3 separate regions of the Homo sapiens genome follow, and regions 1 and 3 are each linked to region 2. Evidence: promoter capture Hi-C in human tissues and cell types (Jung and others, 2019). All regions are on one chromosome and are shown on one strand. Each heading gives the region's core, a stretch centred on a gene start or on the middle of the fragment in contact. The rest is flanking DNA. Distances are from core to core; before and after follow the strand shown. Region 1 holds the start of GIPC3 (GIPC PDZ domain containing family member 3). Region 2 holds the start of TLE6 (TLE family member 6, subcortical maternal complex member). Region 3 holds the start of TIMM13 (translocase of inner mitochondrial membrane 13).

The links. The method cuts DNA at HindIII sites, captures the fragments that hold promoters and counts their contacts. A contact is called where the count stands out against the background at its distance.
Region 1: a contact is called between the fragment with the promoter of GIPC3 here and the fragment with the promoter of TLE6 in region 2, in 3 of the 25 tissues and cell types used here (bladder, dorsolateral prefrontal cortex and pancreas).
Region 3: the fragment with the promoter of TIMM13 here is called in contact with the fragment with the promoter of TLE6 in region 2 in 1 of the 25 tissues and cell types used here (aorta).

The regions. Positions count from the first base shown.
Region 1 is chr19:3,584,104-3,587,553 of GRCh38, reverse strand. It overlaps GIPC3 (GIPC PDZ domain containing family member 3), which reads right to left and starts at 2,076. Exons shown (of 6, transcript NM_133261.3): 1 at 1,732-2,076; 2 at 874-1,059; 3 at 560-740. The coding sequence starts at 1,956. The HindIII fragment of the contact is 10,668 bases long and covers 1-3,450 here.
Region 2 is chr19:2,975,622-2,979,107 of GRCh38, reverse strand. TLE6 (TLE family member 6, subcortical maternal complex member) reads right to left here and starts at 1,544. Exons shown (of 17, transcript NM_001143986.2): 1 at 1,498-1,544; 2 at 824-910. The coding sequence starts at 874. RefSeq lists a silencer at 1,513-1,822. The HindIII fragment of the contact is 31,192 bases long and covers 1-3,475 here.
Region 3 is chr19:2,426,336-2,429,816 of GRCh38, reverse strand. It overlaps TIMM13 (translocase of inner mitochondrial membrane 13), which reads left to right and starts at 2,231. Exons shown (of 3, transcript NM_012458.4): 1 at 2,231-2,403; 2 at 2,493-2,561; 3 at 2,771-3,481. The coding sequence starts at 2,284. The coding sequence ends at 2,869. It overlaps LMNB2 (lamin B2), which reads left to right. Exons shown (of 12, transcript NM_032737.4): 12 at 1-1,651. RefSeq lists enhancers at 1,761-1,910, 1,995-2,740, 2,741-3,481 and a silencer at 2,461-2,550. The HindIII fragment of the contact is 21,330 bases long and covers 1-3,481 here.

The DNA.
Region 1 (3,450 bases), core at 827-3,326, 610 kb before region 2:
TCCTAGCATTTTGGGAGACTGAGGCGGGTGGAGCACTTGAGGTCAGAAGTTCGAGACCAGACTGGTCAAGATGGTGAAACCCCGTCTCTACTAAAAATACAAAAATTAGCCAGGCGCAATGGTGGGTGCCTGTAGTCCCAGCTACTCGGGAGGCTGAGGCAGGAGAATCGCTTGAACCCGGGAGGTGGAGATTGCAGTGAGCTGAGATCGCGCCATTGCACTCCAGCCCAGGCAACAGAGTGAGACTCCGTCTCAAAAACAAACAAACAAACAAACAAACAAAAACAAGTCTCCCAGCCTGGCTCCAAAGTGGTTCTGGACGCGTCCTCCTCCAACTCCACTTTACCCAGTCTCTCCCCCACCCCTCCCCCACAGGCTGACTCCATAACAATCTATTAATAGAAACTACCTACGAGTTTCTGATACCCTGCCAGGAGCTCCTTGGCACGCAGCGGGTGCACCTAGAACCTTCCAGCCCGTCCCATCCCCGACCCTCCTCCACCCCAGGCATCCGTAGAACGCACTTCGGGAAGAGCTCCCGCCAGCCCACCCGCCTCACCGAAGGCCCTCTTGGGCTGCACCAGGCGCAGGGTGAAGGGCTGGGACTTGGGCAGCTCCCGGAGCATCTTGGCCACCTCGTAGTGGCGGCAGCCCACAATGGAGTGGTCGTTGATGGCTTCGATGCTGTCACCCACGCACACTGCCTCGATCCGGTTGATGATACTGCCTTCCTTGATTCTCTGCAGGGATCCAGCGTCGCTGGCAGGGCAACCCCAGCCACCCGCCTCCAATCCGCAGAACCCACGTCGACCCAGAGTGGGGGGGGCAGTTGCTGGACCCCAGGAAGCCACCCGCCCACCCCCTCCCGGGCACCTTGATGAAGGCGTAGCCAGCCCCGTTGTCCGTGATGGTCAGCCCCAGAGCATCCTCTGTCTTAGTGACCTCCACCTCCTTGGTCTCGCCTCGCACGTGGGCAAAGATGAAGTCCTCCAGGCCTATCTGACCCCCCAGGAGCTTCTGCATGTCCACTTTGTGGCTGTTGAGGGTGCAGAATAAAATCTTCCCGGGGGAGAAGGAGCCTAGAGTTAGCCAGGGCATGCATCCCCCCACGCAGCCACCCTGTCTGCGCAGGCCCCTGCCCCCAGCGACCAGGATCCCAGCCCATGGGAAAGGGCAGGGCGTGGGACCCCCAGAACAGAGAGAGGAGGGAGAAGGAGACTTCCAGCAGGTGGAGACCCCTCTCCATACCCCGGGACCTCCAGCCCCCAGACCTCCAGGTTTAATCTGCTGGCGCCCCCTGGGGGCTGCAAACCAAACGAACCCGGATTGGAAAAACGCCCAGGAACCCCCCAACCCCACGGCGGCCTCAAACTTCCCATCCCTAAGGGGGCCATCTGGAACCCCAGACCCCAGCTACGCCCAGGAAGCACAGAGGCGCTTCCCCGAGGGCTGGGGTCCGCTCCAAGCTAGGTCTGCGCAGAGGATTTTCTGGAATATCTAGGGGTCCGCTAGTCCTAAGACCTGCCCATCTTTTGCGCAGAGCGTGCAAAGGGGGCCCCTGGGAGTGTGGCACCCCGGGATCTGAGGGCTGGGTCTCTGAGATCCGGCGATTAGGCGGCCACCCCGACGTCTGGGATCCGGGGATCTGGGGTCTCCCGTCCAGGGTCCAAGCTCCCTACCCCTCACCCCATCAGGCGGGTGGTCTTGGGCGCCGGTGTCCGGGCTCCTTACCTCGGTGGGCGCGATCCCGAAGGCTTCGGCGATCTTGGCGTACAGCTCGCGGACGTTGGTGAAGCCCTCGATCTTGCCCGTGGGGCTCCCGTGCGCCAGCTGCGTGCGGAAGACGAGGCGCGGGCGGGCGCGGGGCGCGGCCGGGGGCTCCGAGGGCGCGGGCGGGGGCGCAGACGCGCGCGGGGTCTCGGTCCCCCGGGCCTCCCGGGCCGCTGCTCCCTCCATGGCGGGAGAAGTTCGGCCACCCACCCGGGCCCTCGCCGCCGCCGCCGGATCCGCCGCTTCCTGCAGCCTCCCCTCCCCCGGCCCAGGGCGCGACAGCCGAGACGCCCGGGTAAGGGGATCTGGGAACCCGAGCCTCCCGGGAAGGCGACACCGCGGGGTGCGCAGGGGTGGGTCGGGCCCCAGGTGTCCGGGCCCTGCCAGGGCCAGCTGTGCCCTCCCCGGGGATACCCGCAGTCCGGGGGGGCCTGAGCTCAGGACCCTGGAAGAACAGGGACCACAAATAAGGACAGGGACAGGCCTGGAGCGGTGGCTCACGTCTGTAATTCCAGCACTTTGGGAGGCCGAAGCGGGCAGATGACCTGAGGTCAGGAGTTCAAGACTAGCCTGGCCAACATGGTGAAACCCCGTCTCTACCAAAAATACAAAAATCAGCCGGACGTGGTGGCGGGCGCCTGTAATCCCAGCTACTCGGGAGGCTGAGATCTCTTGAACCCGGGAGGCGGAGGTGGCAGTGAGCTGAGATGGCGCCATTACACTCCAGCCTGGGCAACAAAGCGAGACTCCGTCGCAAAAAAAAAAAAAAAAAAAAAAAAAAGGACAGGGACAGCTGAGGGTGCTGGAGCACTCACCCTCTGCTAGGCGAGGTCATTGTTTTATTTTATTTTATTATTTTTATTTATTTATTTATTTTGAGCTGGAGTCTCGCTCTGTCACCCAGTTTGGAGTTCAGTGGCACGATCTCAGCTCACTGCAACCTCTGCCCACCAGGTTCAAGCAATTCTCATGCCTCGGCCTCCCCAGTAGCTGGGATTACAGGCATATACCACCATGCCCGGCTAATTTTTTTGTATTTTTAATAGAGATGAGGTTTCACCATGTTGGCCAGGATGGTCTTGAACTCCTGACCTCAGGAATCCACCCACCTTAGCCTCCAAAAAAGCTGGGATTACAGGCATGAGCCACCACGCCCAGCCTTTGGTTTGTTTGTTTGATTTTGGAGACGGAGTCTAGCTCTGTCGCCCAGGCTGGAGTGCAATGGCGTGATCTCGGCTCACTGCAACCTCCACCTCCTGGGTTCAAGCGATTCTCCTGCCTCAGCCCCCCTAGTAGCTGGGATTATAGGCGCACACCACCATGCCTGGCTAATTTTTGTATTTTTTAGTAGAGACAGGGTTTCACCATGTTGGTCAGGCTTGTCTCGAACCCCTGACCTCAGGTGATCCACCTGCCTTGGCCTCCCAAAGTGCTGGGATTACAGGCGTGAACCACCGCACCCGGCCGCATTCAGTTTTTTAAAATTTAATTTAGAAACATGATTAATTTTTTGTACAGTTGGGATCTCACTGTGTTGCCCAGGCTGGTCTCAAACTCAAGACCAGGAGGTTCAGGCCATCCTTCAGCCTTGGCCTCCCAAAGTGCTAGGATTACAGATGTGAGCCACTGTGCCCAGCTTCTCTTCAGCATTTAAAGCTACCATCTGACATATCAGATATT
Region 2 (3,486 bases), core at 295-2,794:
ATGGTGGCAGGTGCTTGTAGTCCCAGCTACTCGGGAGGCGAGGCAGGAGAATCACTTGAACCCGGGAGGCAGAGGTTGCAGTGAGCTGAGATTGCGCCATTGCATTCCAGCCGAGGTGAGTGTGAGACTCCGTCTCAAACATAATAAAATCATAAAGTCTCAAAACAAAATATCCCTCATCTGACTCCTTTACAAAAAAAAACGTCTGCTCAGCCCTGAGAGCCTAAATTTACAAATGGTCATCTCTGGGACGCAAAGTGCAGGGAGCGGGGATTGCTTGTAAAACATCAACCAAATACATGATGTGTTCCTGTGTTTTTATCACATATGTGATTAGATGCTACATTTTTTTTTAGATGGGATCTCACTGTCACCAAGGATGGAGTGCAGTGGCACCATCATAGTTCACTGCAGCCTCAAACTCCTTGGGCTCAAGCCAACCCTCTGCCTCAGCCTCCCAAGTAGCTGCAACTACAGGCCCACGTCACTAGGCCCAGCTGATTCTTCTAGTTTTATTTTTTACAGAGACAGGGTCTCACTACGTTGTCCAGGCTGGTTTCAAACTCCTGGGCTCAAGTGGTCCTCCTGCCTCGGCCTCCAAAAATGTTGAGATTACAGTTGTGAGCCACAGTGTCCAGCCTACACTTAATTTTTTTTAAAAAACACGGCTCCTTGGCACCTGTCTTGAGTGTAGCAGCGACCAGTATTGTCTTCAGCTGCGAGGCCTGGGCGGGGCCAGCCCAGGTCACAGGTGGAAAAGGGGCAGAACCACATTGGGCCCGGGTTTCCCTTGAGGGCTGATCCCACCACATGCCCTCCTCACCGAAGTGCTTTTCGGGGGGCCCTTGGGTCTGGGCTGGTCCCTAGAGGTCATCTTCAAGGCAGTAGCCTCCAAGACTTTAGCCAGAGTCTAAAACAACAAGGAGACGGCAGGTCTTGAGGGACAGAAAATAAGGCAGTGCCAGGGAAGCAAGGCACCCGTTACCCCACCCGCACCTCCCAGTTTGGTAAGTCTCCAGGGACCCAATCCTGCGGTTCTCCCATGCGTTCCCTAGGTCCTGTCCTCACTTATCAATGCCTCCAGCTGCCCAGATTCATGGGGGCGGGGACCCAGAAAGAACTGAGCCTTGCCTCCCAGGCCTCACCCTAGGAGGCTGGGGTGGATAGTGCACATACACTCCCTGCTGGGGGCAGTCAGGGACGGGGGAGCCCAGGGAAGGTCGCCAAAGCTCAACCTTAGTTTTGAGACAATTTCCTAAAGCGCAGGGAGATCACTAGAAAGGGGTTTTGAAGGATGACTAGGAGTTAGCCAGGTGCATTAGGCGGAATTCATCAGACAGAAGAAACGACCTCTCTCCACCTCCATCCCTGCTGCAGCACCCAGCTTCTTCCTTGCCTCAGTCCTGCCCCTCCACGCCCCTGCAGCCCCTTCCCCGGCCGGGAATCCTGGAGTCCCCCCAGCCCCCTAGAACACGCCTGGCAACTCACGTCCCTCACCGGGCGGAAGCTGCGGAGGTCAGCCAAGTTCAGGCCAAGAGGAAACTCCTCCTTCCCCCACCGGGGGCCATTTGACCCATCGGGCCCCGCCTCGTCCCGCCTTGTCCCCGCCCCGTCCCGCCCAGGCCCCACCCAGCCGCCACCTGGACCGCGAAGCAGATCAATGAAGGCGCAGTAGCTGCACGTGGGTTCGGGCTCCGGGGGGGGCAGGCCTCTGGCGGCGCCGGCCAATAGCGAGGCCGTTTACGCACGTGGGTCGCGTACGCCCTCCCTGATTGGTCGGCTCTCCCCGGCCGCCGGCCATGCTGTCACTCAGCGAGCCGGGAGCCTCTGCTTTACCCTTTCGGTCCCGCTGCCGGGAAGGGCGGACTTGCAGAGCTATAGGCAATTTGGGGTCCCAGCGGGGGCGGGGATATTTAGGAGGGCGTGGGGCTTGAGGCTCAGAGGCTGGAACTTGGGCAGGGATAGGTGGCGAGTAGTTGCATTGTTTTACGCATTTTTAGCCTTGTCCGGAAGTGGCTTATGGCTGGAGGTGAGGAGTGGGAGGTGGGTGGGTTCAATCTTTAGCGCTGTCACCCCAATTCTTAGATACGGGCTAATTACATTTTCCTCAATATTAAATAACGTGCAATGCAAACGAAGCTTCAAGTCCTCTTTCTGGAGCCAACTTACTGGGTCCCCTTGATGGTCCCAGCCCCGGGCTATGCATTTATCACCGAATTTTCCCAACTGCTCTTCCAGCCCAGTGACAAAGGCTCTGAGAGCAGAAAGCGGGACAGCAGAGGCCCTGAGGCTGATACAGTATTGCCGGATGCAAGCGCGGGGTGGGAGAGAGTGGTGGGTATTCCAGACGGAGGGAATAGCGGAACCTCTCAGGCAGAGCTGGGCTGGTTACAGGAGCAGCCAGGGAGGCTAACGGGGCTGCGTGCACTCCGAACAGGCCTGGGATGATTTCCGAGAGGTAAGTGGGTTGCTGCAGAGCGAGAGAAACCTGCTGTGTGGGGTCGTGGGGATAGGAGTAAGGGGATTTCGGAGTTTTGTTTTGGCCTATTCAAAATATGAAGCCAAGTCACCATGGCTCACACCTGTGATCCCAGCATTTTGGAAGGCTGAGGTGGGAGGATTGCTTGAGGCCAGGAGTTGGAGACCAGCCTGGGCAACACAGTGACACCGCGTCTCTACAAAAAATTTAAAAATTAGCCAAGTGTGGTGGTCATGCACCTGTAGTCTCAGCTACTGGGGAGGCTGAGGCAGGAGGATGGCGTAAGCCCAGGAGGTTGAGTCTGGAGTGAGCTATGATCGTGCCACTGCACTCCAGTCTGAGCAACAGAGCAAGACTCCATCTCAAAAAAATATATAGCTATAATATATATAAAGTATATATATTATATATATAGTGGTCAAGCTGCAGTTCTGGAGTGAGAGCCCGTTTCTTTCTGTTTGGCCCAGGACCTGGTACTGGCATTAGCAGTTCACTCTGCCAGGGACAGTCTCTCTCAGACAGCCACCGGCTGGCTCCTTACTCCCTCAGCTCCCTACTTAGAAATCACCACGTTGGGCCAGGTGCTGTGGTGCACGCCTGTAATCCCAGCACTTTGGGAGGCAGAGGTGGGTGGATCATCTGAGGTCAGGGGTTCGAGACCAGCCTGGCCAACATGGTGAAACCCCAGCTTGGCCGGGTCACACCTGTAATCCCAGAACTTTGGGAGGCCGAGGCGGGTGGATCACGAGGTCAGGAGATCGAGACCATCCTGGCTAACACGGTGAAACCCCATCTCTAATAAAAAATACAAAAAAATTAGCCGGGCGTGGCGGTGGGTGCCTGTAATCCCAGCTACTGAGGAGGCTGAGGCGGGAGAATGGCGTGAACCCGGGAGGCGGAGCTTGCAGTGAGCCAAGATTGCGCCACTGCACTCCAGACTGGGCGACAGAACAAGACTCTGTCTCAAAAAAAAAAAAAAAAAAAGAAAACCCCAGCTCTACTAAAAT
Region 3 (3,481 bases), core at 982-3,481, 550 kb after region 2:
TCATAGATACACAGAAGTTATTTTTTTAATGGATATTTATTTTTTTACATTGGTCAGTACACAGGTCAGGAGCTCACGCCAGGGCCTTGAGGACAGGCTGACCCTCCTCCCCGGGGTGGCGTGGGGCTGGGGCACCCTCCGACGGCAGAGCCTCCTTCAGAAAGTGCAGCTCAAGTCTTAAAGACACCAAAACTGAGCCATGGGCACGCGCCGTCTCCGGGCCATGGCGTTCACTGCAGGGCGGGGGCGGCACCGCTCCCCTGTGACTGCATCCCGCCTCCCTGGGGACCTGCCTGTGGCAGGAAGGAATGGGGGGCCCCAGCCCCAGGCCGGGAAGGAGCCAGCGGCCGACAAAGCAGAAACACCCGCTGCTCCACGTAGCCCCTGCTCGCTGTCCTTGCTCTCAGAAGTCCCGGTCCCATGTAGATAGAGGGGGGCGCATCTTACCAAAGCATTTCCTCCTGGAGGCTACGCCGCTGTGCTCCCAGTCAGGCGGCTGGTAGGGAGCTTTGCCTGCCCCGGGGATACCCTCTGCCAGCCGCTGGAAGTGGGAATGCTGGCGACAGACTGTGTCCTCTTTCCCACCTTCATAGCAGGAATCACCCGGACCCGACTGGCTGGGCTTCGTGCTAGCGAGGGTTCTGGGGGTGGGTCTTGGTGATCTTGTCCTATGGGGAGTCTGCAGTGGTCTCAGCCACATCCTATGTATTTTGGCTCTGGAGGAGCAAAGCTGTATCCTGGAGTTGGTCTGTGATTTGCCGACAGCCTTGCAGGCTGGGCTCAGGGACAAAGTCCCCCCCAAAACCCGCAGGTCCTCATGTCCAGACGCTGCCCAGTCCTGTCCTGAAAACAGCACGCCCCAGGCCCACAGAACCCCCCACCCTACATTTGCCTTGGGTGGAGCTGGGGGTGGTCCTAGGACTGCGGGTGCCCTTAGCTGAAGGGGGTGGGGAGAAGCGTGGACTGGGCAGCCTGTGGGTAATTGGAGGTTCATTGAGAATTGAGTCTTTGGAAACACTAAGAAAATCAAATTTTTAAAAGTTATTTATGGCCTGGGAAACAATTTGCATTTGTCCCCAAATACGCTTAGCTGTGTGCCGCTTAGAACGATGCGAAACCATCCCTCTGTGTAAGCCCGTGCCGTGTGACTCGAAGCCTAGCGCCCTCCCTGCGAAGCATCAGACGCCACCCAGCCCTGGGGGGAGGCCCACGCCTGCTGGACCAACGCGGGTTCTGGGGTGCACAGCGCCAGGTTAACGCTGAAGCCTGCCCCGCTGAGCCCAGGAGCCGGGAGGCCTGCGGGCTGACCCAGAATCCGATCATGCACCTGTCCTCATGCCAGCGGCTTTGGCTGGGGTTGGTCTGAAGCCTGCACGCGGCAGTTCTTTGTTAAAGATCTGAGGGACTCCTCAGTCCTGGGGCGTCGCCGCCTGCAGCCTCTTCCAAGCCCTGCGTCCAGCGAGCGTCACAGCACAACCTGCAAAAACGGAGCTGGGCTGCAGCTGGGGCTGGCATGGACTTTCATTTCAGAGATTCGGTTTTTAAGAAGATGCATGCCTAATGTGTTCTTTTTTTTTTCCAATGATTTGTAATATACATTTTATGACTGGAAACTTTTTTGTACAACACTCCAATAAACATTTTGATTTTAGGTTCTGCCTCTGAGTTTATTCCTGAGGGGAAGCTCGAGCCGGGGCCTCTGCCCTAATGAAGCGGATGTCTAAGAAAGATCCCTCCACCCCCAAGGAAAAAGGTCACTGGCTAGTGTAGCTAGTGTAAACAGGACCCAGGCGATGCATGGGACCCTGCCCTTTTTTTTCTAGTGAGCCTCCGACGCTGTTGCACAAGCTGACTCTTCGTCACGTGATGCGACCGGGCTCCGCCCCGGCGGCAACACGCTGTATAGACGCGCCGGGTGCCTCGTGCGCATGCGCGGCAGGCCCTTCGGGACGAGCTGGAGGCAGAGCGTGAGTACAAAGTGATCGGCCTCGGCCGCACGTAGTAGCCCCCCTACTCCCCGGCCAAGTCAGGGCCTCCCTCTTCCCGCGGAGTCGCAACCACGGGTAGCTCGTGTAGGTAACGGCAGGTCCAGGCCTCCGCATGAGCGGAGGGCCCCCCGCGCGACCTTGAATGGCCCGGGCGCGCGCGGTCGTGTGGGAGTTGTAGTCCTCCGTCCCCGTCCGCGCGGACTCCGTTTCCCGTGGTGCCCCGGGCGGCCCGCTTCCGGCGCAGTTAGTTACGAGTCGGCGCACGCGGCCTCGGTCCGGTTGACTTTGCGGAGCCATGGAGGGCGGCTTCGGCTCCGATTTCGGGGGCTCCGGCAGCGGGAAGCTGGACCCAGGGCTCATAATGGAGCAGGTGAAAGTGCAGATCGCCGTGGCCAACGCGCAGGAGCTGCTGCAGGTGCGGGGCTGGCCGGGGACGGGCGCTGGGGGCGACAGGGCCACCCCTGGGGGCCGACGTCGCGGCTAAAGCCTCGCGTGTCTCCACAGAGGATGACGGACAAGTGTTTCCGGAAGTGTATAGGGAAACCTGGGGGCTCCCTGGACAACTCCGAGCAGGTGAGACCCGCGGAGGTTCGGGGCAAGGGTCGCGAGGGCCTAGATTCGAGGGGGGAGGTGTCTGCGCGTGCGCAGACTAACGGGGAGGTGCGACGGAGTGGTCACTGCACGTGCGTAGTCTGCAGCCCGGGCGTCCTGGAGCCGGGGTCAGGGCGGTCCCCGGGGCCGCGAAGTCCCGAGCTGAGCCGTGCGCCCCTCCGCTCCCGCAGAAGTGCATCGCCATGTGCATGGACCGCTACATGGACGCCTGGAACACCGTGTCTCGCGCCTACAACTCGCGGCTGCAGCGGGAACGAGCCAACATGTGACCGGCGAGCGCGGGCCACCCCACCCTGTTCATTTCCATAAACGTGCTTTGAGAGGCGGGGTCCGCATGTACGTACTGCCTGCCCGGGGCTTAGGAGGGTGGCACCGGTGCTGGGACACACGGGACTGTGTCCTCGCCACCCCCCGCCCTGCCCCCTGCCAGCCAGTGCAGCTTGGATCTCGGGGGTGTGGGGCCCTGTGCCTTCCTGAAGTGCTGGCAGCCCAGTGGCACCTCCTTCAGGCCTTTGGGGTATTCCCCTAGTGTGCCCAAGTCAGCCTCATATTCTGGGCGGACAGCTTGTCTGGACTTCGGAGTTGGGGGTGGTCAGACACCACAGGAGCTGTCACCTCCTGCGGATGGGCAAATAAATTGGTGGAGGACGGAGAGAAACCTCTTTATTTCCCTCCTGAGGGGTCTCTGGGAAGAGGTGACGCGTGTCCCTGGAACCCCAGCTCGGAGGGTCTCAGCCTCCCCTGGGTTGGGAGAAGTCCATCTTTCCCCTTAGTGCCACCGGGCTGCTGAGTCACGAGGAATGTGTTGCTGCTGCCACCCCTGCCCCAAAGGCTAAGGGGGACAGCCTTCCCCTTGTCAGGGCTTGCTTTGACCCTGCTTC